4 separate regions of the Homo sapiens genome follow, and all the other regions are linked to region 1. The links are contacts of gene promoters, found by promoter capture Hi-C in blood cells and fetal thymus (Javierre and others, 2016). All regions are on one chromosome and are shown on one strand. The core of a region is centred on a gene start or on the middle of the fragment in contact, and the rest is flanking DNA. Distances in the headings are between cores, read along the strand shown.

The links. Contacts are between HindIII fragments. The CHiCAGO score rates a contact against its expected background, and 5 or more counts as called.
Region 2: a contact is called between a fragment that was not itself captured here and the fragment with the promoter of HMHB1 in region 1, in 1 of 17 cell types (monocytes). The highest score is 5.9, in monocytes.
Region 3: a contact is called between a fragment that was not itself captured here and the fragment with the promoter of HMHB1 in region 1, in 2 of 17 cell types (M1 macrophages and naive B cells). The highest score is 5.6, in M1 macrophages.
Region 4: a contact is called between a fragment that was not itself captured here and the fragment with the promoter of HMHB1 in region 1, in 3 of 17 cell types (endothelial precursors, M2 macrophages and M0 macrophages). The highest score is 7.3, in endothelial precursors.

The regions. Positions count from the first base shown.
Region 1 is chr5:143,809,077-143,816,948 of GRCh38, forward strand. HMHB1 (histocompatibility minor HB-1) reads left to right here and starts at 3,085. Exons shown (of 2, transcript NM_021182.3): 1 at 3,085-3,228. The coding sequence starts at 3,192. The HindIII fragment of the contact is 5,854 bases long and covers 1,112-6,965 here.
Region 2 is chr5:143,304,989-143,312,860 of GRCh38, forward strand. NR3C1 (nuclear receptor subfamily 3 group C member 1) reads right to left here. Exons shown (of 9, transcript NM_000176.3): 4 at 5,109-5,225. Among named protein-coding and RNA genes, the nearest start is that of NR3C1, 95 kb to the right of the region's middle. The HindIII fragment of the contact is 8,081 bases long and covers 1,000-7,872 here.
Region 3 is chr5:143,324,887-143,332,758 of GRCh38, forward strand. All of the region lies in intron 2 of NR3C1 (nuclear receptor subfamily 3 group C member 1), which reads right to left. It also overlaps the pseudogene RPL7P21. Among named protein-coding and RNA genes, the nearest start is that of NR3C1, 75 kb to the right of the region's middle. The HindIII fragment of the contact is 762 bases long and covers 4,703-5,464 here.
Region 4 is chr5:143,409,189-143,417,060 of GRCh38, forward strand. It overlaps a transcript of NR3C1 not described here. Among named protein-coding and RNA genes, the nearest start is that of NR3C1, 9.4 kb to the left of the region's middle. The HindIII fragment of the contact is 2,480 bases long and covers 1,532-4,011 here.

The DNA of each region.
Region 1 (7,872 bases), core at 1,835-4,334:
AGGATTAAAAGTTTTCAGAATATTATATCATATATATGTAGATACAGAATAAGCAAACAGATTAAAATGATTATAACTATGCCCGCTATTGGTAGGTATAAAGTGATGCTGAATTTTAACAACTTAATTTAAAATCTTTAATTTTAAAAATTAATTTAAAATTAAATAATTTAAAATTTTAAAAGGTTTACAGTAGGTTTAAAAGTGGTGCTGAATTTTAAAAATAACCATGTATGTCAGAACTTATACACCATGTAAAGAATAACCTGTTTAAGGTCACCTTAAGAGGTAATACACTTACTTAAATGTAGCTGCTACTGCTGAACCTATTCTGGATTTCTCTAATATAGGGTTTTAAAATTTGGGGTCCATGGAGTCTGTGGATAAGATTCAGAGGCCTGTAAATCTGGGCAGGAAAAATTATATCTTTCTTTGTACTAACCTCTTTATGAAAGTTAAAGTTTCCTGGCCAGGCGCGGTAGCTCAAGCCTGTAATCCCAGCACTTTGGGAGGCCGAGGCAGGCGGATCACAAGGGCAGGAGATTAAGACCATCCTGGCTAACATGGTGAAACCCCGTCTCCACTAAAAATACAAAAAATTAGCCGGGCGTGGTGGCGGGTGCCTGTAGTCCCAGCTACTCAGGAGGCTGAGGCAGGAGAATGGCATGAACCCAGGAGGTGGAGCTTGCAGTGAGCCGAGATTGTGCCACTGCACTCCAGCCTGGGCGACAGAGCAAGACTCCGTCTCAAAAAAAAAAAAAAAAAGGAAAAATAGAAAGTTAAAGTTTCCTTTAATTATGAAAGCAATAGTAATACCTAAATTTTTGTTACCAGTGAAAATTCTGAGTCTAATTTAATTCTGTTATTTTCATAACACATTTTAGTTTTTGCAGATATCTGTAAATATCATTCCCAGGTTGATATTAGACATTTTTAGATCTTCTTATTTAATATGTTATTAAAGAAGAAAATATGTTACTATGTCACAATTTTTAACATTTTGATAACTGTATTCAATATAATTGGCTCTTTATAATTCTATATATTTTCTTTTATACTTATAAAAATGATGATTCTGAGACAGAGTCCAGGGGCCTTACCAGAGTGCATAAGCTTCCCAAAGCACAGAAAGTTAGACCTCCACACCTCCACAAATAGATCTAATTTCAGGGCAAGAAAAGCAGTGATGATGCTTTATGACCATATGTTCTTTTTGACAAAAAAGCAGTCTTTAACAGTTTTGGCTAATTGCAAAAAGCCAATGCATTCTCAAAGGAAAAAGATATGCCAACACTGAAGATACTTTTGAGAAAATTCCATCATCAAAGAAGATGGTTTTTGTTTTTTACAGACCCAGTCTTTCTCTGTCATCCAGGTTGGGGTGCATTATTGGAGTGATCATGGCTTACTGCAGCCTCAAACTCCTGGGCTCAATTGATCCTCTGGCCTCAGCCTCCTGAGTAACTGAGGCTACATGTATGCACCACCGTGCCTGGCTAATTTTTTATTTTTTATTTATTATTTTTTTTTGTGTGGGGATGAGGTCTATGTTGACCAGGCTGGTTTCAAACTCCTGGGCTCAAGCGATCCTGCTGCCTTGGCCTCCCAAAGTGCTGGGAATTACAGGTGTGAGCCACAGTGCCTGGCTAAGATGGAGTTTTATATACAGAATTATCAGGCCTTCTTTCATATCTCATCCTCAATATGCAAATAACTAATTCATTTAGCAAATATTTATTGAACGTCCATTATGTATGAGGCACTATTGTAAGTATTGGAATAAGTGCAGTGAACAGGTCAGATATGGTAACTGCCTGGATGGAGTTTATGTTATAATGGAAGCAAATAGACACAAGAAATATGATCGCATCAGGTATTTATAAGTGTTATGGTGAAAATAATGCAGAGTAATCTAATCTAGGGAGTGAGAGGGTGACTAGGGTCACCCATGTGGTGGCTAGGTGCCTGGGTCTGGCGTTGCACTTCTTCCATTCAAATCCTGGCTCCATGCACCTCTGGCTCTATGGCCTTGTCCAGTTGTGCACTCTCTAAATCCCAGTTTTGTTACCTGTAAAATGGACATATTAACATTACCTACTTTAAAGAGGTGTTTTAAAGAAAATGGCTACTCCTAACATCTCCCCAAGAACCAAGCACAGAATTTTGGAAGTTTTAATATATTTTCTTAAAGAAGTCTCTTTCTCAGCATTGTAAGACAATTAACTAGATTCAAGTCTCAGAGTTGTTAAGTTATTTTATCTTAAGGCATCCAACGGCACAGATTGACATTAAAGTGAAAGAAGAACTAGCTTCATCATTGCCATTGTTCTTTACCATAGCCCATGGGAACACAGGACCCGGCTGACTGAGAAAAGTGAATGAGGGGAATTATATCAGAAATGACAGAGAAGGATGGGCAGGATTTCTGGCAGGCACAGGTATTTCTAAGTAAGAAATGGTGTGGTTAGGAGAGAATACTCTCAAGAAGGGGAGAGATGGATTCTGCGGCAAAGGGAGGTTCCTTCATTCAGTGTTTATGGAGAGAATAAAGGCGCTGGCCCCTCCAGTGAGGATATGGAGTAAACGAGACAATCAAGTCCATCACTCCTGGAGCCTGCATTCTAGTGTGGAAGACAGACAGCAAATGATACATCAACATTAAGAAATTCATGAGTAAATAAAGATAATTTCAGGCAATAATAATTACTCTGAAGAACATAAACAGGGACCTATGATAGAAAAGGGGTGTAAAGGAGTTTGGAGGATTTAAGCTGAGTGAGCAATCTCATCTCTATTTTGATAAGGTCACTGTGGATTCTGTGTGGATAACACATTGGATGTGGATAAGAACAGGAGCAGAGAGACCTCCAATAGCAGGAGGCTGCTCTAGGGGTCCTTGCAAGGGATGCTGGCAGCTTGGACCCGAGTGGTGGGATGCAGATGGAAGAGGCAGGTGGACAGATGAGACAGCTGAAGCAGGAAAAGCAGGCACAAAGGCTAACACAACACAATGTAACAGAACGGGAGTTTAGAACGGAAGGAACACTCCAGAGTCATTCTGGTCCAATTCTGCAGATGAGGAAACCACATCCCAGGAGGCCGAGGCGGCTTGCCCCGCATCTCAGAAGCCGGGCAGGCCCTGAGCCTTCTGACCTCACATCCTCTGCCACACCACAGTGGAGAAACCAGAACTGGAGGAGCAGCCAGAATGCAGAGAAGAAAAAAGAGGTGAGGGAGCGAGGAGGAGGGAGAACAGAGAGAGAGGGAAAGAGGCAGCGAAGGGGCAGAGAAAATGAAAGAAAATGCTGGTGGAATGAGAGGGAAACCACAACAGGTGAAAACAGGGATGGCGGAAGGCAGGGGAGAGGAGTGAGACGGCCCTTGTTGCTGGGATTATTTAGGGCGGATAGTTTCCAGTTGAGGTTCGGTTTCATAGCCCATTGCCTGGCTGCCTGCAGCTGTCAGGGCACCAGAGGCAGCAGTTGGAGCAGCTGCCTGCACCACCTGAGCCACAAGGACAACGGCAAGGGAAGTGCAGATGGGCAGGAAGTCCCTCTGGGTCGGAGCCAGGGTAGCCAAGATCACATTGTTCTTGCCCACCGCGTGGGATGCTCAGGCTTCCCAAGGCAGCCCAGAGACCAGACCCGTCCTTTATCCTTAGCATGGCCACCATCATCACCATCATCGCCATGCTCCCACTTCTTAGGATCATGTGCCGGGGGCTTTGCATGCATTTCTCTCTTTCATCCTCACAGAAGCACTTGAGGGGGGTATAGCTTTCCCCAGTTTACAGATAAAGACACGATGGCTTCATTCCTTAACTCACTAACCTCATTTCAGAGCCAGGAAATGGCAGAAAGGCCCTGCTGTCGTGTTTTTTGTTTGTTTGTTTGTTTTTTTGTCTTGTTTTCTCCTCTTGAAGAGGACACACGGAGCCCTGGGTTGACGTTATAGGAGGTGTTGGTGCCGTGCACTGAAGGGATCTGCTGTTTTCTCCTTCCTGCAACTGGAGGTCACTCAGCCTGGACTGATGAGGCCGGGGAAGCCTGTGCTCTGTCTGGTCCACACAGCCCCCTCAGCCACCCCAGGGAATGCTCAGATCCAGTTGCACAGGTAGCCCACAGAATACAAACAGAACTTTCTTTTAGAATTTTTATGCTGTTTTATTGTTTCATACAGACAACTACCGACCTTCCCTTTTTTCCTTCAAGGCCCCTTTCAAATGTCACCTCTTCTATGAAGGTTTTATTTCTTTCCAGGCAAAATAAACCACTCCCTTTTTGGTGCCCTCATAGTTTTACATTTTGGCCTAAAGCACTTGTTCGCCTCCTCCATCAGAGCATGGGATTCTTGAGGGAAGGAACTGTGTTTTAATCATTTCTGTATCCTTGGCATCTAGCACAGTGCTTGGCACAGTAAAAGCTGTCAATAAATGTTAGCTGAACTGAAAAGTAAAAAATGGAAAGGGCATTTGTTGGGGCCAGCATAAGTCAACTGTTTCCATCCTTGTTTCCTTAACTCAGAAACTCAAATGAAGAAAGACATTGTCAGTCTCATGAGCAGTCCATATTTTTTTTTATTGGTGAGAGATAAAGTAAATGGCATGTGGATTTCCTTTGGAAGAATAACAAATAAAATTCTTTTGTAAGGATGTGAATTATAAAATTAACTTTTTTTATCTCCAGATTGTCATTTTGCAAGGAAAAAAATATAAGTAATAAATATGAACATACCTTTTTTATTTCAGACTTTTGCTCCATAGGCAATAGAAATGAGATGGCCAATTACAGTATTGAAGCAGAAGTACAGATATAACTCAGTGCAGAGGCAAATATGGCACATGATATTTTCATATTTTTATGTGTTACTATGAGTAACACTATTGCAAATTCATTTTATTTATGATTTGGTCTTTGTAGCTCCAATTTCATTATTAACTGAAATTTCATAGCATCATTCTTACTGACATGCATTGAAGATAAAAATGTTCTATATTTTCCTCATCTATCCTTGTCTTTTTCTTTATTAAAAATGTAGCCATTGGCAAAATAAAAGAACTAGCAATAAGCATACTGAAATCACAACTGAGACACATGACAATAATCTATAACCATGACACCTGTCCAGGCTGCATCCAGCCAAATATGGATCCAAAAAAAGGAATACTCATATTTGTTACTTATATTTTTTTCCTTGCAAAATAACAATTTGGAGATAACAAAAAGTTAATTTTATAACTCATATCCTTATAAAATACTTTTATTTGTTATTCTTTGTCTCTCGTCAATAGAAAAAAATATGGACCGCTCATGAAATTGACAATGTCTTTCTTTATTTGAGTTTTTGAGTTAAGGAATAAGGATGGAAACAGTTGACTTACACTGGCCCCAACAAATGCTCTTTCCATTTTTTGCGTTTCAGTTCATAGTAGGAGCTCACTCAGGACTTAGCTGTCAGAGAGAGGACAGTCTGAGGCCTATGTGCACTTCCCAGCACAACATCTCACATCCTCCTCATTTTTTATCACTCAAGATATTGAAAAACTAATATGCAAGGATGCTGTCATTATAGGGGTAATCTTCAATCGTCTCTAATTATATTTAAAATTATGTCATAAACTTCAGAAAGTAACCAGTATTAGTGTATACCTTATTATTAGCATAATCCAAGCTGGCCTCACCTACAAATAGAGTCATAATTATAAAAATTTTATCTTTTAGTCTCCTACTTTCTCAAAATGGAATTTGTCCCCACTAAAAGTTATCCTTCAAAGTAGTGCTTCACCTGTGCCCACAAATACCTGTGGCTATTGCACAAATATTGTGTGGCTTCTACCAGGTTTTCTTCCTGACCTAGCTCTCATTTGTTGATATTTGTTATCCCGTCAAACCTTTCTGTTGCTCAGCTTTGCAGCATGGATGGTGCAAAAATGCAAATGTTGCTCTGTCTGATACTGTTCCCAAAGCTGGCAAATTGTAGGATGTCACCATGGGGCAAGCTCCATGAATGAAGGGATTAGGGGTGAAGAGAAGAGAGAACTGACCTTTCTAACAAAGTTCAGAGACCTAAATTACTGAACTTTTCCCTAATTCTGTATTAGTTTCCTATTGTTGCTATACTGAATTACCACAAATTTAGTAGTTTAAATCTGCACAATTCATTATCTTACAGTTAAGAGGACAGAAATCCAATCAGGGCCTTATTTGGCTATAGTCAAGGTGTCAGTGGGGCTGTGGTTTTAGCTGAAGGCTCTTAGGGAGAATCCTTTTCCTTTCCTTTTCCAACTTACAGATTTACCTGCATTCCATTGCTCATGGTCCCATCTTCCGTCTTTAAAGCTAACAATGTTGCAGCTCTCTAACCTTTTTTCAAAGTAATGTATCCCTTTAACTTTCCTGTTTTGCTTCCCTCTTCTACTTTTTACTTTTTCTTTTTTCCTTGTATTTTTTTCTTTTTTTTTTTTGAGATGCAGTCTCGCTCTGTCGCCCAGGCTGGATTTGGAGTGCAGTGGCGCAATCTTGGCTCACTGCAACCTCCACATTTCGGGTTCAAGTGATTCTCCTGCTTCAGCCTCCTAAGTAGCTGGGATTACAGGTGAGCGCCACCATGCCTGGCTAATTTTTGTATTTTTTTTTTTTTTTGAGACGGAGTCTCGCTCTGTCGCCCAGGCCGGACTGCGGACTGCAGTGGCGCAATCTCGGCTCACTGCAAGCTCCGCTTCCCGGGTTCACGCCATTCTCCTGCCTCAGCCTCCCGAGTAGCTGGGACTACAGGCGCCCGCTACCGCACCCGGCTAATTTTTTGTATTTTTAGTAGAGACGGGGTTTCACCTTGTTAGCCAGGATGGTCTCGATCTCCTGACCTCATGATCCACCCGCCTCGGCCTCCCAAAGTGCTGGGATTACAGGCGTGAGCCGCTGTGCCCAGCCCTCTTTTCCACTTTTAAGGGCCCTTTTATTACATTAAGCTTTCTCAGATAACCCAAAAGAATCTCCCTATTTTAAGGTCACCTGATTAGCAATCTAAATTCCATCTGCAAACTTAATTATCCTTTGCCATAGTTCTGAGGATTATGACATGAGCATCTTGGGGGAGAATATTATTCTGCTACCAAGAATATATTTTTTAAATATTCTCATTTCCATAGGTTATTGTGGAGTAGGTGGTGTTTGGTTACATGAGTCAGTTCTTTAGTGGTGATTTCTGAGATTTTGGTGCACTCATCACATGAGCTGTATACATTGCATCCTATTTGTAGTCTTTTATCCCTCACTCCCTTCCCACCCTTTCCCCCTGAGTCCCCAAAGTCCACTGTGTCATTATTATGCCTTTGCGTCCTCACAGCTTAGCTCTCACTTATGAGTGAGAATATATGATATTTGGTTTTCCATTCCTGAGTTACTTCACTTAGAGTAATACTCTCCATTCTCATCCAGGTCACTGTGGATGCCATTAATTAATTCCTTTTTATGGCTGAGTAGTATTCCATTGTATATATATACCACAGTTTCTTTATCCACTCATTGATTAATGGGCATTCGTATTGGTTCCATGATTTTGCACGTGCAAATTATGCTGCTATAAACATGTGTGTGCAAGTATCTTTTTCGCATAATGACTTCTTTTCCTCTGGGTTGATACCCAGTAGTGGGATTGCTGGATCAAATGGTAGCTCTACTTTTAGTTCTTTAAAGAATCTTCACACTGTTTTCCATAATGGTTGTACAAGTTTACATTCCCACCAGCAGTGTAAAAGTGTTCCCCGTTCACTGCATCCATGCCAGCATCTACTGTGCTTTGATTTTTTGATTATAGCCATTCTTGCAGAGTAAGATGGTATTGCACTGTGGTTTTGATTTGCATTTCCTTGAT
Region 2 (7,872 bases), core at 3,790-6,289, 500 kb before region 1:
AAAGAATTTATGACTAATCCCCAAAAGAAACTGCAACAAAAACAAAAATTGACAATGGGACCTAACTAAAGAGTTTCTGCAAATCAAGAGAAACTATCACAATCTACAGAATGGGAGAAAATATTTGCAAACTATGCATCTGACAAAGCCCTAATATCCAGAGTTTATATGGAACTTAAATTAACAAGCAAAAACAACCCCATTAAAAATGGGCAAAGGACATGAACAGACACTTCTCAAAAAAAGACATACGTGTGGCCAACAAACATATGGAAAAATGCTGATTGTTAATCATCAGAGAAATGCAAGTCAAAACCACAATGACACCACTGTGGAAAGAAGTTTGGAGATTCTTCAAAGAATTAAGAGTTTAACTACCATTCAACCTAGCAATCCTATTGCTGGGAATATACCCAAAGAAAAATAAATCATTCTATCAAAAAGACACATGTACCCATATGTTCACTGCAGCATGGTTTGCAATAGCAAAGACATGGAACCAACCCAGGTGCCCATCAACAGTGGACTGGATAAAGAAAATGTGGTATTTATATGCCATGGAATACTATGTGGCCACAAAAAGAATGAAATCACGTCCTTTGCAGCAACATGGATGTAGCAGGCGGCCAGTATCCTACATGAACTAATGCAGAAAAACAAATACCATGTTCTCATTTATAAATGGGAGCTAAACATTGAGTACACATAGACATAAAGATGGGAACAGACACTGGGAAATACAAGAGGGGGGATAGAGGAAGGGAGGCACAGGTTAAAAAGCACCTGTTAGGTACTGTGCTTACTTCCTAGATGAAAGGTTCAATCATACTCCAAACACCGGCATCACACAATGTATCTTAGTAACAAACCTGTACATGTACCCCTAGAATCTAAAATAAAAGTTGAAAATAAGAGAGAAACTACTAGATTGGGTTTTTGAACTTAAAAAAATTAGTTTCAGTAATATTTGGTTATAAATCTGACAATGCCACAAGACTAAGCTTCATTTGACTGTTTATACTAAAAATAAAGCCATACTTTGGATTGATTACAATATATCTTAAAATGAAGTGAATAAAAACATTTAGTTTCAAGAGAAAAACAAGCAAGTTTTTTAAAAAAAAACATTTAGGATCACCATTAAAAATCTTATCTGTTCTTAAATGCTAGGCCCTTTAAGCAGTGAAGGCCACTCCCTTAAAATAAATCTTGAGATTTACTTGGTATGGGGCAAGAGTATAAAAATACACCACTTGGAGTCCTAAGTTACATTTATGGAGAGACTTGGGCAAAGTTATTCTGGGGCTATCATCGAAACTGCTTGGCTTAGGGGAAGCACTCTGATGAACAAGAGAATATTTCTGAAGGTTGTTAAAAAAAAAGTGTGAAACACATGGCTCATCTGTATTGTAAGTGTTAGGGTCTGCCAAAGATTCCTGGCATACGTACATACCAGGCCAAATAAAGATTTTATGTATACTGAGGTTAGTTCAATACAAAAATGATAGTTTTACAGTGAAACCACACACACAAACCCTAAGAACTTTTTTAAGCCTTTCTTTCAATTCATCTACAAGTAGAATTGGATCATTTATATGATATGTGCCACACGGTACATATCATAGTAGGAAATAACAAATCAGAATTTTCTTCCACTATGTAGTATAAAAATGGATATAAAGTAAATCATGGCCCTATTCAAAGGTGTTTTTAATAATCAGGGTCCAAAAAGTAGAAGAATGTATATCAAAGACTAACATGTAGTAGTTTTCAACAAATGCCAATTTCTACACTAACTGGATACGTTATACTGACTATAAAAGCATATAATTGGTTATTTTTAATACAATATTTTGAGAAACTGCAGCCTAAATTGTATGCTTAAATTTTTTTTTTTTTTTTTTTTTTTTTTTTTTTTTTTTTTTTGAGACGGAGTCTCGCTCTGTCGCCCAGGCTGGAGTGCAGTGGCGCGATCTTGGCTCACTGCAAGCTCCAACTCCTGGGCTGATGCCATTCTCCTGCCTCAGCCTCCCGAGTAGCTGGGACTACAGGCGCCCGCCACCACGCCTGGCTAATTTTTTGTATTTTTAGTAGAGACGGGGTTTCACCGTGTTAGCCAGGATAGTCTCGATCTCCTGACCTCGTGATCCACCTGCCTAGGCCTCCCAAAGTGCTGGGATTACAGGCATGAGCCACCGCGCCCAACCGTATGCTTAAATTTTATTCATGTAAGAAAAATTTCTGATGTCCAACAAAAGATTCAACTGGAAATGGCAGTGATGGTATAATTAATAGAAAAATCAGATGTCAGTCACTGCCTGGGGTCGTCTTCTAGTACAGTAAGGGCAAAGGGCACTGCAATTGCTATTAAACTGTAAGAAGGAGGAAAAAATGGACAGATTTCGTAGCCTAGTCCATCAAAATCATTACTTTGTAGTTGATATATCTTTTTTCTTTTGATGAAAGAAGGCCCTCATAGTTTGGATAGGGAGAAATTGCCCAGAAAAACATTATATACTTAAAACTCCAAAGATCTTAAACTTTATATGTATTCAGAAAAGCACCTAAAAATGTTACTGGGTAAGCAACCACAATATATTAGAGATACGACAGAATTTTATTTGGGTTTGTCCTTTGAGCTTCATTCAAAACCTATTTCGAAATATAAAATAGGTAAAATGAAAAAATGAAGATTAGAGATAATTGGGACCGGAGAAAATAAACCAAAGGGCACTAAAAACTCAAGTGTCTTAATACATATTTAAATGGTCAAAGTATATTACATACATAGGAGATTAGAGAGCAGCAAGATGAAACTGGGTAAAATCTGGGCAGAGATCTGGTATCTAAGAAAGTGGGGAATACTGTTTTTATAACAAAAATAAACTACCCTTGTGGAACTGAAAGCAAACTTCTGTGTGCATTTTTTAGTTAATCTCTACAGTTTTTATAACATTTACAAGAAAGTGGGCAGCTATCATTTTATGTAAATCAATGTTTAACATGCTGACACTCTGCAGTTAAGTTTAAATAGCCTGGTCAAACGTAGATAGAGTTGTGTGTGTGGTTTGGGGAATTAGACTCTTCATAGTCATACCCATAAATCTATTTTCTATTTAACAAGATGTCTACACACAGTGTGTGCTAGATAGCACCAACAATTAGTCTCTCCTATCAAAAGAACCACATAGGTCAGTTGCAGTGGCTCACACCTGTAATACCAGCACTTTGGGAGGCCACGTTGGGAGGATCACTTAAGGCCAGGAGTTAGACACCAGCCTGGGAACATAGCAAGACCCCTTTGTCTCTACAAAAAATTAAAACAAAAATTAAAAAAAAATCAGCTGGGCATGGTAGTGTACATCCGTAGCCCTACTGGGTGGGAAGATGGCTTGAGTCTAGGAGTTCAAGGCTGCAGTGAGCCATGTTCATGTCACTGCACTCCAGCCTGGGTGACAAGAGTTAGACTCTGTCTCTAAAATAATAATAATCATCATAATCATAAAAGGAACCACATGGTTTCCATTCTCTCTCAGTACTGCCATCTCTTATCTGGAGGACTGCCATATTCACTTAATTGGTCTCTCCATGTAAGATTAGTCTTTGTAAAATACAAATCTGATCATGTCTCTGCCCTTATTTTTCATCTATCTAATTCCTACTCAGCTTATAGATTTAAAATTCAATGTTACTTCTTCCTTGACTTCCAAGACAGAATTAGGTGACCTTCCTCTTGTTCCTGTGGCCCTATGCCCTCTATGGTGTGCCATGCTATTTTGTGACTGACTCTGCAACCTAACTAGCAGATAAACTACTTGAATACAGGCACTATTTTATTCATTTTATACCTAGTGACTGCCTTGTTGGTGCATATTTGTTGAATAAAAGTGCTAATTTCACAATAAATACTAAGCATATGTGTTATGAGATCACCACTACCTTCACAGAACTTGCAATTTCAACCACAGCAGAATTCCAAACTTTTTTCAGAGGAAAATTTTTTAATGCTGAGATCAGTGTTAATTATACAACTTGTTATATAAACAGGGATATGAAACTCTAACTTATAACTAGTTTCAGGTTTCTTTTTTTTTTTTTTTTTCCAAGACGGAGTCTTGCTCTGTCGCCAAGCTGGAGTACAGTGGTGTGATCTCGGCTCACTGCAACCTCTGCCTCCCGGGTTCAAGTGATTCTCCTGCCTCAGCCTCCTGAGTAGCTGGGACTACAGGTGACACCACCACGCTCCGCTAATTTTTGTGTTTTTAGCAGAGACAGGGTTTCACCATGTTAGCCAGGATGATCTTGATCTCTTGACCTCGTGATCCGCCTGCCTTGGTCTCCCAAAGTGCGGGGAGACCAAGAAACTTTCTCAGAAACTTCTCACTGTTGTGTGCATTCAGGTCATGGAGTTGAACGTTTCTTTTGATTGAGCAGTTTTTCAAACACTCATTTTATAGAATCTGCAAGTGGATATTTGGAGCGCTTTGAGGCCTACGGTGGAAAAGGTAATATCTTCACATAAAAACTAGACAGAAGGATTCTCACAAACTTCGGGGATTACAGGCGTGAGCCACTGCACCCGGCCCAGGTTTCTTCTTTACTTGAAAACCAAAACAAAACCCATCCAGTTCTTCCTTGAGGTTTTTTTTTTCCCACCACCCCCCGCTTGAAGATCTGTAATAAAACACAGATCTCCAAGTAAAAGGTATGCTTTTAAAAGGCAAACAGAAAAATGGACATGTAAATATGTCTGATACAGAAACATTTCCAACCCTAGGGAATAGTTTTGAGGCTGAAAAAAGGAGTAAGAATAATAAAGTTGCTGCATGTTGTGTAAGTTTCATTATTACATAATTTCCTTTCTTTGTATATAGTCTGGCTGTACTGAATTCAGTGTGTGTAAGAAGAACTGGTGGATAAACAAACAATATGACATATTCATGAAAAAAATTTCCCATTTTTATTGGGCAGTAACATTATGCTAGTCAAGCATATATATACTGAACTGACTACATTAATTACATCTGCTTACGTGTATCTTCAAAAGTAAAATGATAAATTTTTATAAGCTACAGAGACAAACAATTGCTTTCAGATATTTATATTACCTTCCAGGTTCATTCCAGCCTGAAGACATTTTCGATAGCGGCATGCTGGGCAGTTTTTTCTTCGAATTTTATCGATGATGCAATCATTCCTTCCAGCACATAGGTAATTGTGCTGTCCTATATGGAATAAAAGGCACTATTAAAGTTTCACAGGTCTTCAAACATATTTTATAAGGACAGCCTCTGTCTTTGTTTCCGGTGGAATATAACCAAGACACCCACAGGTATTGCCTTGAGGGAATGTTCTTGCCTACATTGCCATTATGAGGTCGAGAGGTCAAAAACAACAAAAAGAGTCTCCCTTTTTCTGTTCAACAAACTGAAAACAGTGCAATAAAAAACCTTATTGCAGTATTCACATATAAAAAAAGTACACAAATCAGTGAACCATTTAATAAATTTTTACAAACCAAGAACCTTTATGTAATCAGCTCTCAGATCAAGAAACAGAACAGTACCCCAACAGGCCCCCTTTCTGCCCAATTCCAGCCAGTACCCACCAAGGGTAACTACTTTTTTGATAAACTGTGTTTTACACAGTTTGATAGATTATGTTTTTTTATTTTTATTTTTTTGAGATGGAGTCTCGCTCTGTCGCCCAGGCTGGGAGTGTAGTAGTGTAGTGGCATGACCTCACTGCAACCTCTGCCTCCCAGGTTCAAGCAATTCTCCTGGCTCAGACTCCCGAGTAGCTGGGATTACAGGTGCACGCCACCACGCCTGGCTAATTTTTATATTTTTAGTAGAGACAGGGTTTCACCATGTTGGCTAGGATTGTCTCGATCTCAGGACCTCGTGATCCACCCGCCTCGGCCTCCCGATGTGCTGGGATTACAGGCATGAGCCACCACGCCCAGCCAATAGATTGTGTTTTAAACAAATAATAGTTTGGGGTAGATGGTTAACTGTATCAGGTTCAATTCTTTGTAAAGAATAGGCCACAAAATTGACCACTAGACTATAATTCACCTTTGTTCAGAGCTGCTCTCCAATGCCAAATATCTGTACCAGCTGTTTCAATTTCTTTTTGTACTCTATAAATATCCTAGCTTCTTTACTTGGACAGAAAATGGAAGCACTAACCCAATTCTATCCCCTATAAATCAAAAGTACGATCAACAGATACATCTATTGATGAAGTGGTTATAATACAAAAAAGTTATACCCTATAAGGAATCTCTAAATCACTGTCCTACAGTTACTGGAAGAAAAAAAGAAAAAAAATCACCCACTGCTAAAAATGAAAAATTCCAAAGTTTTGTTTATATCCAACTGAAATGTCAGGATGTGCACATTACGCCAATCTTGATTTCTTTATCCCAGGTATGTCTTGTGCACAGCTAAGACTCTGAGCTATAGGATCAGAGGCAATGTACCTTCATAAGTTAAAAATAGCCCTTTGTGGTTATTAGCATGAAGTTGGACAAGTCTATCTATCTGTTCCTTATCTATAAAATGAGGAGTTTTAACTAGTATTCACTATTTCATAACACATGGCCACGTACAACTAATAGTCATTTCCTGTCAATCCATTCATTCATTCCTTGACTCATTTATTTATTTATTTTTAGACAAGTTCTTGCTACGTTGCCTAGGCTGGAGTACAGTGGTGTGTCATAGCTCTTTGCAGCCTGAATCTCCTGCTTTAGCTTCCTGAGTAGCTGAGACTACAGGTGCGATGCCTGGATAACGTTTTTTTTTTTTTTTTTTTTCCTGTAGAGACGGGGTCTCGTTATGTTGCTCAGGCTGGTCTCAAACTCCAGGCCTCAAGCAATCCTCCCATCTTGGCCTCCCAAATTGCTGGGATAATAGGTGTGAGCCACAGTGCACAGCCCATTTTCCTTGAGCCACAGTGCCCAGCCCATTTTCCTGTCAACCCTTCTGATAAGACAATGAGATATCTTATTTTGGAGTTCCTGTGTCTTCTACTACTTGGTAAATTCCCTTTCTAACTAATAGAAAGATGAGTCTTCAAGTCAGCTGAAATTTTGTGACTTTGTTTTGTTTATATGGTATTCATTTTTGTGGTTAAAGTCTATTTTTGGCAAATAATTCTGGTTTTCTATTTATGGTGGGTGTGGTAGCCAGCCTCCCAAGATGGCCCCCAGTGATCTCTGCCTCCTTGAATGCATGGTCTTGTGCAGTCCCTTTCCGTCCTTTACCAAGATTGGTCTGTGTGGCCAATAAAATATGGCAGAAGTGATGGCATGTTACATGTGAAATCAGATAATAAAAGACAATAGTTCTGCTGCATTGATCACATACTCTCTTGGATCATTTGTTATGGGGGATGTAAATTATAATGCTACTCACGTTACTCCACAGAGACCACAAGGATGCCAGCTTTGGCTAGTGTAGTAGTCCCACCTATTGATTAGAGTCAAAAGTAAAGCCCACCCCTGCCTAGTGTAAAGCTCTGAATAAAGTGCAACAACTTGCTGATACCCATATTATACTATGCCAATTTTGAGGGATAATCTATAATTCTAGCAGGTATTAAGAATGGAGTGCTAAGTGTAAGATATTTTCAATTCACAATGGGTTTATCTGGAGGCAACCCCATTGTAAGTCGAGGAGCCATACTGAATGCGTATCACTTTCCCACCATCATAAAAGTTGAAAAATCGTTAAGTCAGGGACTGTCCGTATTATTATTATCACTGCATTTATATCGTGGAAATACTTAAGCAGTTAAGAAAGTGAGGAGTAAAGTGAGGACACGAAGACGCTTCTGTCTTCTGCGTATGTGTTAAGTAACATCCAC
Region 3 (7,872 bases), core at 3,834-6,333, 480 kb before region 1:
AAACATAACATAGTAACCTTTGCTCCAGTTCCCAAAAAGTTCCTAATATCCATCTGAGACCACCTCAGCCTGGATCTTATTGTTCATATCACTATCAGCATGTTGGTCAAAGCCATTCAACATGTCTCTAGGAGGTTCCTAACTTTCCCACATTTTCCCGTCTTCTTCTGAGTCCTCCAAAGTTCCAAAGTCGCTTCCACATTTTTGGGTATCTTTTCAGCAACACCCACTCTACTGGTACCAATTTACTGTATTAGTCCATTTTCATGCTTGTGATAAAGACACACCCAAAACTGGGAACAAAAAGAGGTTTAATTGGACTTAGAGTTCCACAGGGCTGGGGAGGCCTCAGAATCATGGCGGGAGGCAAAAGGTACTTCTTACATGGTGGTGGCAAAAGAAAAATGAGGAAGAGGCAAAAGGGGAAACCCCTGATAAACCCATCAGATCATGTGAGACTTATTAACTATCACGAGAATAGCAAGGGAAAGACCAGACCCTGTGATTCAATTAGCTCCCCCTGGGTCCCTCCCACAACACATAGGAATTCTGGGAGATACAATTCACGTTGAGATTCTGGTGAGGACACAGCCAAACCGCATCACTATCTCTGTTACCAGTTGGACTGCCACAGTATCACAGTGCTTGTGTTCAAGTAACCCTTATTTTACTTAATGGTGGCCCTAAAGCACAAGAATAGTGATGCTGGAATATTGTTACAATTGTTTTATTTTATTATTAGTTACTATTACTCTTTTACTCTTCCTAATTAGTAGGTTAAACATTAACCATAGGTATGTATGTATAGGAAAAACAATATACATATAGGATTTGGGATTATCTGTGGTCTGTGGTTTCAAGCATACACTAGGGGTTTTGGAACCTATCCTCCATGAATAAGGGGTGGGGGCTGCTATATTTAGTAAATAATGAAAACATTGGTAACCTTACCCCTAGAAGATCAAGGAGGAAAGAAATAGTTTTTAAAATTATATAAAAGTTATATAGCAGACATCTGCAATACAGCCAGTTAGATAAAAAATTTAAGACTGAAAAAAGTTTTCAGTAGGTGAAACAAAATATCTCTTTCACAATAATAATCATACTGGAAACTACTGACTTGTAATTCTGTGTGTCAAGCTGCATGCCTAGGTACAGTACACAAATAAATTATCTCAAATAATTTTTACTGAGTCCATTTTACAGATAAGAATACAAAAATTGGGCCTTTTATTTGCCCAAAGTCGCATTATAAGGCAACACCTGGATCTGAATTCAGCTCTGCCTAATTCCAAAATCTATGCACCTCATAACCTTGTGACTGTTGCCTGGCAGGGGCCTGCAGAGTAGCATCCATTAAGCTTGACAGAGTTTTTTAAGATTATGTGGGTCACTTAACAGACAGTCTTAAGGTAAGGTTAAACATCAAAGTTAATTTCTGTTTTCTATCTATCCTGCCCCTTCTATCCTTCATATCACAATGGAGCACAAATTATAATTAAGAGATACAAAAGCATTCAGTCACTTCCATTTTTTTCTTTAGATACTTACTATATTAAGTCTTAAATGAACATATTGGCATTCCAAATTATTAAGATAATGTCATGCTGGTCATTGAAATGCTAAATTAACATGAAGACTACATTTCAAAAATACAAAAGTATAAATAGGAGTGTTTTGTATATTCATACCACGATTTTTGCCCTTAGAGGAACTCTGAAGTACATTGTTATATGTCTGACTAATGTATTCAACCCTGGAATTTTTGGGGAAGCATTTGTTTTTTTCTGAAATATACTGTCCCACTAAAGTATCAAATTGGGCATACATGATGACATGAAAAGCATTTCCCAAACCATAGTTAATTTAAGTAAAATGAACTTAATATTATACAGCCTTAACTAGAAATGAGATGTCTTGCCACACTACCAGTTCTGTCAATAGAAGTTGAGTGAATAGATTTATATCTATTAACTAGAAAAAAGTATAGGCATAAATTAACATGTCATCTGATGTGAGCAGATTGAGAAAGCCAACAAATTTCTAGTTATTCAATTTAAAGGACACTGAAGTACCACAATGTATACATTCAATTTGACTACATAATAATAGCTGCTATTTACTTAGCACTTCTTCATCTACATATTCTGTAATCTTCATTACTATCCTGTATTAGTCCATTCTGACACTGCTATAAAGATACTATCTGAGACTGGGTAATTTATACGGAAAGGAGGTTTAATTGACTCACAGTTCTGCATGGCTGGGGAGGCCTCAGGAAACTTATGATCATGGTGGAAGGGGCAGGGGAAGCAAGACACGTCTCACCTGGCAGCAGGAGAGAGAAAGAGCACAAGGGAAACTGCCACATTTAAACCATCAACTCTCCTGAGAACTCCCTATCACAAGAACAGCATGGAAAAAACCCCCCCATGATCCAACTGCCTCCCACCAGGTCCCTCCCCCAAAACATGCGGGTTACAATTCAAGATTAGATTTGGGTGGGGACACAGAGCCAAACCATATTATTTTGCACTTGCTCCCTCTCAAATCCCATGTCTTTTTACATTTTAAAACCAATTATGCCTTCACAACAGTCCCCCAAAGTCTTATTACAGCATTAACTCAAAAGTCCAAGACCAAAGTCTCATCTGAGACATGGCAAGTCCCTTCCACGTATGAGCCTATAAAATCAAAAGCAAGTTAGTTACTTCCAAGATACAATGAGGGAACAGGCATTGGGTAAATGTTCCTGTTCCAAATGGGAGAAACTGGTCAAACCAAGGGCCACAGGCCCCATGAAATCTGAAACCCAGCTGGGCAGCCCTTAAATCTAAAAGCTCCAAAATCTCCTTTGACTCCATGTCTCACATTCAGGGCACACTGAAGTAAGGGGTGGGCTTTCATACCCTTGGGCAGCTCCGCCCCTGTGGCTCAGCAGGGTACCCCTGTGGCTTTCACAGGCTGGCATTCTGTGGCTTTTCCAGACGTATACTGCAAACTGTCGGTGAATCTACCTTTCTGGGGCCTGGAGGACAGAGGCCCTCTTCTCACAGCTCCACTAGGTAGTGCCCCAGTGGGGACTCTGTATGAGGGATCCAACCCCATATTTCCCTTCCGCATTGCCCTAGCAGAGGTTCTCCATGAAGGCTCTGCCTCCATGGCAGACTTCTGCCTGGACATCCAGGCGTTTCTATACATCCTCTTAAATATAGGCACAGGTTCCCAAACCTCAACTCTTGTCTTCTGCGCACCTGCAGGCCCAACACCACGTGAAAGCTGCCAAAGCTTGGGGCTTGCACCCTCTGAAGCAATGGTGCGAGCTGTAACTTGGCCCCTTACAGCCACAGCTGGAGCTGGAGCATCAGGGATGCAGGGCACCATGTCGTGAGGCTGTACAGAGCAGCAAGGCCCTGAGCAGGAAACCATTTTTCCCTCCTAGTTCTCAGGCCTGTGATGGGAGGGGCTGCCCCGAAGATCTCTGCCATGCCCTGGAGACATTTTCTCCATTGTCTTGGTTATTAACATTTGGCTCCTTGTTACTTATTACTTATTACTTTTTACTTATTATTACTTATTACTCCTTGTTACTTATTCAGATTTCTGCAGCTGGCTTGAATTCCTCCCCAGAAAATGGGGTTTTCTTTTCTACTACATGGTCAGGCTGCAAATTTTCCAAACCTTTATGTTCTGCTTCACTTCTAAACCTAAGTTCCAATTTCAGACCATATCTTCGTGAATGCACATGACTGAACGCTTTCAGAATCAGCCAAGTCACCACTAGGATGCTTTGCTGCTTAGAAATTTTCTTCTGCCAAATACCCTAAATCATCTCAAAGTTCATCAGTTCTCTAGGGCAGGGGTAAAATGCTGCCAGTCTTTTTGCTAAAGCATAGCAAAAATAACCTTTGCTCCAGTTCCCAATAAGTTCCTCATCTCTGGGACCATTTCAGCCTGGACTTCATTGTCCACGTCACTATCAGCATTTTGGTCAAAAGTATTCAAAACAAGTCTCTAGGACGTTCCAAACTTTCCTATATCTTCCAGTTTTCTTCTGAGCCCTCCAAACTGTTCTAACCACTGCCTGTTACCCAGTTCCAAAGTCACTTCCGCATTTTCAGATTATCTTTATAGCAGTACCCAACCCTGCCAGTACCAATTCTCTGTATTAGTCAGTTTTTACACTACTATAAAGAATATCTGAGACTGGGTAATTTATAAGGGAGGTTTAATTTACTCATAGTTCTGCATAGCTGGGGAGGCCTCAAGAAACATACAATCATGGCAGAAGGCAAAGAGGAAGCAAGGAAAGTCTTACATGGTGGCAGGAGAGAGAGAAAGCACAGGGGAAACTGCCATATTTAAACCATCAGATGTTTTGCGATCTCCCACACTATCACGAGAACAGCATGGAGGAAATCACTTCCATGATCCAAACACCTCACACCAGGTCCCTCCCTCAATATATGGGGATTACAATTCAAGATAAGATTTGGGTGGGGACACAGAGCCAAACCATATCACATCCTGAAAGTAGGTATCTCTAATCCCATTTGACAGATGCAGAAACTAGGACTCAGAAATGTTAGAGAATTGGTCCCAGAACACTATATTATACATTTATTAAGAGGCAAAATCTAAATTTGCATTCAAGATTCCAAGTCTACTGCTGCTTTATTTTTTTGCACATGCCAATAGTAAAAGCTTGGTTTTCAAACTGTATCACAGATTAAGATAGATTAAATTAGAACAATATTATAATAATTAGAGGATGTTAGAACTCCTCTATTTCACAGAAATAAAGGTTAAATGATACCCAAAGTAACAGGTATCATAGGTAAGAAATTAACACCTTTTTTTAAATACCAATACTCATGTATTATTCCTTTACCCTGCATTCTCCAGATACAGATAAAAGGGCTGACTACATTTTTTTTAAATATGTGAATTGTTCTAAAATTCAATACTTTTCTACATTCTGGTGAGATCCTCTTGGTAAATTATATAATTAAATATCAGTCAAAACATACTAAAAAATGTATTGTGGTGCTGCATATAATGTATATGTACTCTGATTTTCACATATTTGTCTACATATACATTTGTCAATTCACAATAACAGAGTGATGTGCCAAGTAAACTATCGTGTAGTTTCACTTTTGAAAATTTAACAATAGAATATAAGTTTTGTTTTTCACAGTCTAAGTAAGTATAGGTTACTGTGGTTCATTTTAGAACATTCATTAGAAAAGTAACGTGTCTCTTCTAAAATGCTATTTGCTAACATTTTAGAAACTGTATGTTAAATAAAGAAGAAACATTTAAAGCAAGTGATGATGTAATTTTTGTTTTAAAATTTTAGGGATATTCTGCACAATGTAAAAATTTCAAGGGCACACTTAGCACTTTTTTTGAGAAAGAATAAATGGTAGCTACTGTTGTAGTGGGAGATGTGCAATGTGGAAGCTTTAAAATTGATAAACATTTATAAGCAAAATAATAGTAAATAATATTTTCCTTTTTTCTAAAATAATCGTCAGATTTACAAGTGAAATCAATACTGTATTCTCTCAAACTTGTTTTAAAAGCTTTGTCAGAGTTTGTATCTTCATAAAAGTATTGCAAAAATTAATTTTAACAAACCAAATCCCTCTTGAAAAGAATCAAAAGGAATAAGAATGTGAATGTCAGCCATAAGAAAGCATTTTTAAAACTGTGTTTTCATATAAGCAGTTCTGCATGCAGGAAACAGAAACTGCTGAGTACCACTGCAGATTGGACACTGCTGTTAACAGCTCCAAAGTCTAAGAGAAGTGGAATCTCTGAAAATAAAAGTCATTACTTAAAATTTTAATTACCAACATAATTTTTAGAGTTGTCACTTTCAACAAAATCATCCCTGAAAAAACTTCACAAGTAAAAATAGTTAAATACAACAACAAAGAATTGCAGGGGATAGAAAGAATCGATATTGTTAAAATCGCCATACTGCCCAAAGCAATTAGCGGGTTCAGTGCTATTGCTCTCAAAATACCAATGACATTCATCACAGAATTAGAAAAAAACTATTTTAAAATTCATATAGAATCAAAAAAGGGCACAAATAGCCAAAGCAATCCTAAGCCAAAAGAACAAAGCTGGAGGCACCGTATTACCCGACTTCAAACTACTACAAGGCTAAAGTAACCAAAACAGCATGGTATTGGTACAAAACAGACACATAGACCAATGCAACAGAATAGAGCCCAGAAATAAGACCACACACTTAAAACCATCCAATCTTCAACAAAGTCAACAAAAACAAGTAATGGGGAAAGGACTCCCTATTCAATAAATGGTGCTGGGATACCATCTCACACCAGTCAGAACAGCTATTATTAAAAAGTCAGAAAATAATAGATCCTGGTGAGGTTGCAGAGAAAGGGAAATGCTTATACACTCCTGGTGGAAGTGTAAATTAATCCAGCCATTGTGGAAAGCAGTTTGATGATTTCTCAAAGAACTTAAAACAGAACTACCATTCGACCCAGCAATCCCATCACTGGGTATATACCCAGAGGAATATAAATGATTCTACCATAAAGACGCATGCATGTGTATGTTCACTGCAGTACTACTCACAATAGCAAAGACATAGAATCAACCTAAAAGCCCATCAACAGAAGACTGCATAAAGAAAATGTGGTACATATACACCATGGAATTCTACACAGCGATAAAAAGAATGAAATCATGTCCTTTGCGGCAACATGGATGGAGCTGGCAGCCATTATCCTAAGCAAACTAACACAGGAATAGAAAACCAAATACCACATGTTCTTCTCAGTTATAACTAGGAACTAAACATTGAGTACACAGGGACACAAAGAAGGGAAGGACAGACACTGGGGCCTACTTGAGGGTGGGAAGAGAATGAAGACTAAAAACCTATCCATCAAGTACTGTGTTTATTTCCTGGGTGATGAAATAATCTGTACAGCAAACCCCTGTGGCACAAAATTTGCCTATATAACAAACCTGCACATGTACCTCTGAACCTAAAATAAAAGTTTAACAAAAAAGAATTGCAGGGTTTTTTGGGGAGTGGGCAGGGGAGAAAAGGAACCAATAAAACAATGATTATGACAAAACCTTTATCCATAGTTTAAAATTAGAACACAAAACATCTAACCACCTGCCAAAACATGAATCACAAAATTGATATTTTAAGGACAAGTCATTAATTTGTAGCATAAATAGCTGACAACCTTAGACTAAATGTGTCATTGCTGATAAATGATTCACATCTTCAATACTGAAAGCTGACAAGCATTCAGAACATTAAAACAATATATCACAACACAGACTGTTAAATATTAGGTGGACAGTCAGTGCATGAGTTTAGCTGTACCAGGATTATTTTAAGAAAGTTCGGGCACTTTGAGTGTTTTTTTTTTTTTTTAATCCATAACTTTCTGTAAGAACCACACTGTGGATCATAACATCTGAGCTATAAGGATTAAGAGTGTAACTGGGGCCCGTTGGGTGGGGGGGCGGGACAGCATTAGGAAAAATAGCTAACGCATGCCGGGCTTAATACCTGATGAGTTGATAGGTACAGCAAACCACCATGGCCACATGTTTACCTATGTAACCTGCACATCCTGCACATGTACCCTGGAACTTAAAATAAAAATTATAATTAAAAAAAGAATTGAGTAGCTGCACCACTAGAAAGATGGCAGTAGCAAGACAGAAGAAAGGAAAAGGGCTCAGGTTTAAGCGACTGGAATCATTCCTACATGATTCCTGGCGGCAGAAACGTGACAAGGTGCGTCTCAGACGACTAGAAGTGAAACCTCATGCCTTGGAATTGCCAGATAAACATTCCTT
Region 4 (7,872 bases), core at 1,522-4,021, 400 kb before region 1:
GGAGAACTGGATCAGTTGAGATCGATATTGAGTAGTGTCTGTTACACGATTCTGTTAAAGAAAGGACATAAGACACCACATTCATTCCCATGTCTCCTGTTGTTTATCACATATATTTCCTCTTACATAAGCATACTTCTTTGTGACTTATTTTCCTATAGTCCGTGATTCTTTGTCATGGCTTCAGTTTCCATTTATTCTTTTTTTCTGTACTCTCTCACTTTAAATGTGTGATGTTAAATATAAATGGGAACCATGTATACGTGTATTGTGTACATGTGTATTGTGTATTTTGAACATGTTAAGCCCACACAAACAGCTTTTATTGGTGGTTAGAACTTACTTTAAAAAATTATTCCTGCAGCTATCATAGCTATTATTTGTCTCTTTAAAATAATATCTTGACTTTGGAAAATACTTCTATTCCTATTTAACTTTATAAGGTAAGAGGTTCAAGGGAACCCAGCTGAGCTTTGAATGAGCCATCTCTGTCTGCTTCAATATTTGTATTTTATGCCAGACATGCCTATTATAAACAATTCACACTAGTACAGCAAGTTCTTAATCATAATGAACTCCACTTTGGTATTCCTCGTTGTAATTAGAATTAACATTCCCGCCTGGACTGGGAAATGCTAAATTATTACTAGCTTTCCTGCTGTTTTGCTGTCTTTCATGATGCTTTCAATGATTTCATCATAAGCAACCTAAAATATCACAATTTGTGCTCATATGCGTGAAATGCCCAATGGGTGTCCTGGTTGACTTTATTCTTTATGCTGGCAGAACTTAGTTTAAGCAATACCTGATTCAAGGATGAGGCAGCTATCAGCAGATAAATGAGATAAATGTTGCCATAAGCAGGAACTCAATGTTTTTAATGTTTGGAGGCATTAGAGCAAGCACACTGAATAATTGCAACAAGTATTACGTACTTTGTTTTTTCATTTGTGGCATTTGTGGCTCCTCATATGTCATTAGCTTTCTTCCTTTCTTGATTTAATCTCCTTTTCTCTCCCATGTTCCTTTGGTAAAGAGTGTTTCAATCTGCCCCGCTGCTATGTGGAATCTTTCAGCTCATTTGAGAACCTGCATTTCCATTTTGGTTCTTATATCTTCTTATTAGAGCACACAGGGTTTTGTTTTGTTTTTAAGCTAACTTAGAAATAGTGGGGTTGAGATGAAAACATTCTTGGTATAGGGATCCCTTAACAAGATAAGAAGATACTTCATATCAAACTCCAAAGTGCTACAAAGGACATTTGTCACCATTGAAAAAAAAATTGTTTTGAGATCAGTATTTGTCAATTAAATTTTCTCTATCCTCTTGTTGAATTTTCAATACAAGACCTGGTTTTTAGACCCTATTCTGCCATTTACTTACTTGAATGAGCCTGGGGTAGGCATTTGATTTTTCTCAGCCTTGTTTTTCAATCTGTAAAGGAAGGATAATGATATCTACCCCACCTATCACACAGGAAGTAATGTAGGCCTTACATGGGATCATGTGTTCAAACGTTTTTAAACACTAAGCTTTATTTGGAAAACTTAGAGGAGCTTATGGAATTTTTGCACTATCACTTCACCACAACAAAAATGAAAATTATCATTGTCTCTTTTCACTTATTTCCCAGGGAATCAGTGCAATGGGCAGTCTGGAATTTTAGGCAGGGGAGTGATAATTCAGTAGTGCACCGGAAACAATTGTACCAGCTTGCAAGCACTGACTGTTAAATTTTCAGAGATTTTGTAAGTTGGTTGTTAATCACAGTCATTATTAAAAACCAAATTATTTATAAACTCACAATCAAATATTTTAACAACAAAAATAAATGCTGAAGACTTTACTGCCTAATTATTTTACTCCATTTTACTATTATCTATGTTCTTAAAGTTATTTCTGTCTGTTCTGTATAAGAACATACCATACGATGGTATGATGCAGCGTATCCCTTCCTAACGCTGCATTCAGAAATGTTATTTTGGTAGTTTGAAATCAACCATGGTGGAGTACCTATACTATAGAAATTGGGAAACATGACAAACCAGAGCTTGATTTGTTTTGTTGATTGTCTAGACTGACAGAGTAGAAGAAATTTTAATAATGAAGATTGAACTTAAAAGTGCCTTAGTTTGTGAACACAAAAACTTGAGGAAATATTTTTCTAGTACTTGAAAGCTATTATCAGCAAAAGAAGTCACTTCTGTCATTAATGAACGAGTTTAGTTCCAACATCCATTTTTGTTGCTTCACTTTTATCTCGCTCATTAATGTAAAAATATCAACCAACATTCATGTTGGGACTTCAGTACCATGAATGACTTCTTTGCTGATTGGATATTAATCAGATATTTATTTGTGGTCTGATTTTGCCAAACGTGTTTGAATTTTAGCTGTAGGTTGGCTATGGACACAAATATTCTGCAAAAATCACTGAAATGGTTCTGTGAAAATCACATGGCCATATAGAATTTACTATTAAGAGTGTTATATTTTTTCTTGCTTTTTGTAAATTATGTGATACATATATGTAAAAATTATAAAACACATAGATACTCTGTTCCCCTCAGGAGCTGTTAAACATTTACTAACACACTAATGGACATAATCTAATTTACTATTTGAAAAGCTCGTTCTGCTTGCGATGTGGAGTATGAGTTGTAGGGGCTAAGGGAGAAAGCAGGGAGAGCAGTGAGGAGACAGGCACATTGGCCCAAGGAAAGATGACGAAGTTTGTATTGGTTGCAATGGCAGGGGAGCTGGGGAGCTATGGTTGGACAGGAGAGGTATTTTGAAGGCCAAAGGTAAGCAAAGCAGTCATCCAGCAGCTCTATGAAAGAGATGGACTTCCAGGAACTTTTTATGCTAAGAGAAGACCTTCTGGTGAAGAGTAAGCAGGCTTAGTTGAATGGGGTGAGTGCATAGAAAGCTGTGCCAGAGAAAAGGAGTCAGGGAGGGTTGTAGTAGGAAGTAGGAGATGTTGGCAGTTCTAGGATTTCAAGGTAAATATCTTTATATCAGATGGAGAAAGTTAGGCTGGATTGTTAGTCAAATGTCGAATTGCCTCAAAGTGCAGGGGGGGAGGGGGGAGGGGAAGCCCCAAATACCAGTAACATGTTGCAACTGGAACTCACATACTAAGCTACTCATCTAGTAATTTCATTGATTTTTGCCCACATGGAGGGGTTATTTGTTCATCTCCATGCCTTGAGCCTATCCCAATTTATAGTAGATTTTTTTTTCTCACATTTGGCAATTTTAATTATAAAACTCTCACACTGAATCACCCTGTGTTACACATATATTGCTGTCCCCTTTCATGCTTCTCACTTCTTCATTCCTATTTTTCTTTGCTATGCCATAAAGAAGGACCCTACCAAAAGCCACCCTATTGTCTTGCCTATTAGTTATCAGAAAACTTCTGGCAACCACAGTTTTCCCCACTTTCCCTGCTTCCTCCATTATAACCTACAATCTATATTCCACATTACAGGTTTTTTTGTTTGGGTTTTAACATTTTTCAAGAGAAGTTATTACATTTTATGGAGTTTAAAAAATAGTAAATGTTTTGCAAAAGAAAGAATCATGTCTCCACATTCACCCACCCTTTCAACCCTAATGACCAGAAGAAGGAAAGATTCTCAGCTATACAGCTACCAATGACTAACACTTTGAGGATTCAGTTTGGATATGTTGTTTACTTTGGTCTTCTGATGATTAGCTATTTTAGGCATGGTTTCAATCAATCAGGGAATGTTTATTAATAGAAGAGACTTTCTTAATTAATATTCTCTCCATTCATTCCTTCAACAAAAGAGAATTCCTTCAACAAAATACAATTCCTTCAACAAAATAGCAACTATTATATGTTAGGCCCCAGTATAAGGCTGCAGGGATATCAAAATGATAACAATCTCTTCTCTGGAGGAAATGGAGACAGATACGGTTACAAGTCATTATAGAACAATGCAGACTTACAGAAATGTGTTAGATGCATAGGGCACTTCATAAGCTTCAAGAAGTCATCTGGTGTTTAAGGTTAGGAAAATGGGTGTGGATATGGAGATGGTGGTCACGGAGGGTTTCCTAGAGGTTAGCAGGACTGACTTGAATTATGAAGGGTTTTCTTCAAGTTATTTGTTTTTTTTTTCTCTTGAAGATAATACTTCTAATGGAAGCTTGTAGACAACATTCATTAGGTCATTTTTTGGTGCATTTATAAGAAACCCCACTGTTAAAAACAGAGTTTTTTGATTCACTGAAAAGTCCAGGGGAAGTTTAATTTCAGGAGGCATGACTGGATTCAGGGGCTCAAATGAAGTCCAAAGGGCTTAAATTTTATCCCTTAGCTTCATTTTCCTGTTTTGTTTTGTTTTGTTTTCTGGAAAGATTATCTCCACCTCTCCACCTGGTGGCCTGTGGCACCTGGATTTAACACATCCTGCCAGGTTAGTAACTTCAGTGGAAAGAGTTCTTTTCCCATAATTTTAGTAGTTGTTCCTGGGAGGGGTTTCACTGGTCTAGTTGGTTCAAATGCTTATCCCTGGACCAATAACTATGACCAAGGGATGTCAGGAATGTGTACTATGATGGGCAAAGCCTAGCTCAAGTGCCCACCACTGACACCTAAGAATGGGGTACAAATGAAAGAGAGAGAAGAGGAGGTGCTTCTCCAAATAATTGGAGATTTTAAATTTAAATAGGAGAAAAGGGATTTCTGGGCATGCAGAAAAAAACCCAGATGTCCATGACAATAGCTTTTTATCAAAATATTAACAGTGACATAAACATCATATTTTACATTTTAAGAGAATAGACATGACTTAAAATGTTTGTCAGCAATGGAAAGAACCCTGAAAATTAAGTATAGTTGTTACAAGTTTTATTGGTTTCACTTCCTGCCTTTAATAGAATGTGGGTTTGTACTTTGAAATTTCAAATGTTACACAAATGAATTGATGATTGCTTTGCAGAAATAGTATCTCCACTTAATTGGGCCTTTTTTGGGTGATGAAGTGATGTTTACAACTTTTAAGCTAGTTTTATCGTCTTCCACTGAAGGAGTTTGTCTCACTTGAATATGATTCCAACAATATGATGGGTATAGGCGGCTGCAGTGAGCCTCTGTCTGCTTATTTTGCTCCTTCTGTCTTGACAAGCTGAATGTCACGCAAATGTCTCAAGCCTCTGCACTGGGCAGGCAGGAAGCCAGAACCAGTAATAGAAGCAGTAGGCACTCTGTGAATACTTGCTGATTAATTTTAGCTCCATAGGCCTGATGGGTTTTCCATCCCTATAATTACCATCAGCAAATAGTTATTGAATGATGTCCAGCATATTTTTATTTCCCTTTTCTTGATCCTGATTTTCATTTTCTATTTTACCTCTCTGTGATTTTATCACGTGTGTTTCTGTTCATCAGACTAACAGAGCCTCCTGTGATTAGTTTATAATCACTCAGTTTTATTTCTACCTATGAGATATCTTTATCTGTCTGTCTAAATTTGTCTTTGTTATGACCCAGTTCAAGTTCTTTCTGGAATTAGGGAAAGGATGAAGTGTGAAAAAAAAGGAATTAAATAGTTCGGTTATTGAATGGCTATTTTGTGCTTGATGCTATATTAGTACATTTCCACATTTGCTTTACAAGTTAGTCTTTCTTATTAGAAGTAATGCTTAACAAGCCTACAAGTACTGACTGGGCTCACTTTATAGAGAAAATGGAGAGCAGTGAAGGGTGAGGAGGTTATGAGTTATGGATATGACAAATGGGGAAAGATCTTACAGAAGAGAGATTGGGGCCATCCAAGAAAAATCGTTATCTTTGTGTAGACGGCATTAGAAGGATGAAAAATAACTTTAGATATTACTTATGCCTTTAAGAAAAAAACTTCAAAAGATGCTAGAAAATAACACATACTTATTGTAAAAATCCAAACATACAGAAGGTAGAAATGTATAAAGGTAAAAACTTCCTCACACAATCCCATTTTGCAGATGTAACTATTTTTTTCTTTTTATATTTTGATGGCAACAAATTTGTAATTATTTTTGAGTTTTTATGTATATTCCAGATCCCCCACCCCATTATTCCCCTCTTTAAAAACTTTTATTATGTGAAATAGAAAGTAGAATTGTGACTATCAGAGGCTGGGAAGGGCAGGGGGAAGGGGAGGATGGGGAGAGATTAGTTAACGATTACAAAATTACAGCTAGATAAGAGGAATGAGTTCTGATGTTCTGCAGTACCATAAGGTAAATGTGATTAACTATAATTTATTGTATATTTTCAAATCCTTTTTGTCTATACATGGATGCATGCATGCATATATGTTTTTTAAAAACAAAAATGAGATTTTACTACATGTATTTTTCAACCTTTATTCATCAAATGTTATTGGACATCTTTTCATCTTTTCAATATTTTCAGGTAATAGTAGCATAGTATACCATTGTTTTAACCTTTCCTTATTGAAGTATATGTAAATTGTTTTCAATTTTTCACTATTGCAAGCCATGCTGCAATGAATATTTTTGTATCTAGATCTTTCTGCTATTGTACAATTATTATAGAATTGAAATTTCTCAGGCAAATGTGATTTGCAACAATTATCAAGCACCCAAAAGTGCTACATTATTGGGCTCATTTTAAAAATGCTTGTCCACTACAGCTCATTTTCTACTTTCATCTTCCTTTAGACATTCTAGAAAAAATCAATTAGAGCAGTAGTCATGGATGGCTATGCAGGACAGGCTACTAGCTGGAGACCCCTCATGTTTTGCTATTGATACAGTTTTGCTGAATCCATCCTTATGTTAAATGCATTAACAATTTAAGAGGATTGGTTTACATATGAACTGGGAAGGGATTATTCAGGGATACCATAATGCTTGATGGCTGCCTCCATCCTACCAGGGACCCTGATCTGCCCTGTTGTGGCCACATGGTAGATAGGTACTGTTTTACTTGCCAAGTATCCCCTCTCCACATATGATACTAGGACCTAACATTTCCTTTGGAAAACTATCCTTTCCCTAACTTTGGTCCATGCGCTTATGGTGGTATTAACCCATCTGTAACTCTGCATGGGCCAGGTCTGGTAATATCAGAGATAGGCACATGACAGGGACAGATACACCTTAATTCTTGGCTTTCTGGGACTACTTGGAAACTTGTCTTGTTTCTCAACAGGAATAGCTAAGCTGATACGATGCAAGCTTGGAGCAGCTGTGGTCTACCACTTAGAGACTCCATTGGATTGAGGTTTGCAAAAAAAAAAAGCAAAGAGATCTGGAAATAGATTCCCAATTATATAATATGAATGTCTAGATCCTAAGGTGAGGGCTGCTCCTAGACTTGACTATTACACACTTCAATACATTATTCCCCCTCCTTCTCTTCCTCCTCCTTCCTCTTCAGCCAGCTGGAGTTAGCTAACACTTGCATCAGAAAGGGTCCTGACATCAGAAGTAAAGGTCTAAAACATGGGGGTGTTGCTCCTTCTGGAAGAGACAGGGAGGTTAAGGTTACCAGACATGGAGGATGACCCCAAAAGAAAAGGGGAGCCCAAAAGAGAAGCCAGTTGAATGTCTAAAAATAAACTTTACCTGCTTCACAAGTTTGGCTCGAGTTTCCTTTTAATGATTAACTAGATGAGATGGTCAAACTCCTTCTTTATTTAAAATACACAAACATAAATAAGAATATCAGTCTTCAGTTAATTCACCTATTCTGGTTACATCTGCCTCAGGTTTCTATTTTTTTTATTAATACATAAATTGCTTTTCTATTTTAGGCTGTGTTTAAAAAGAGAGAGAGAGAGAAACCTGGTAATCCTCTAAGAAATGTCTTACGTAGTTTTTCTTTAGGG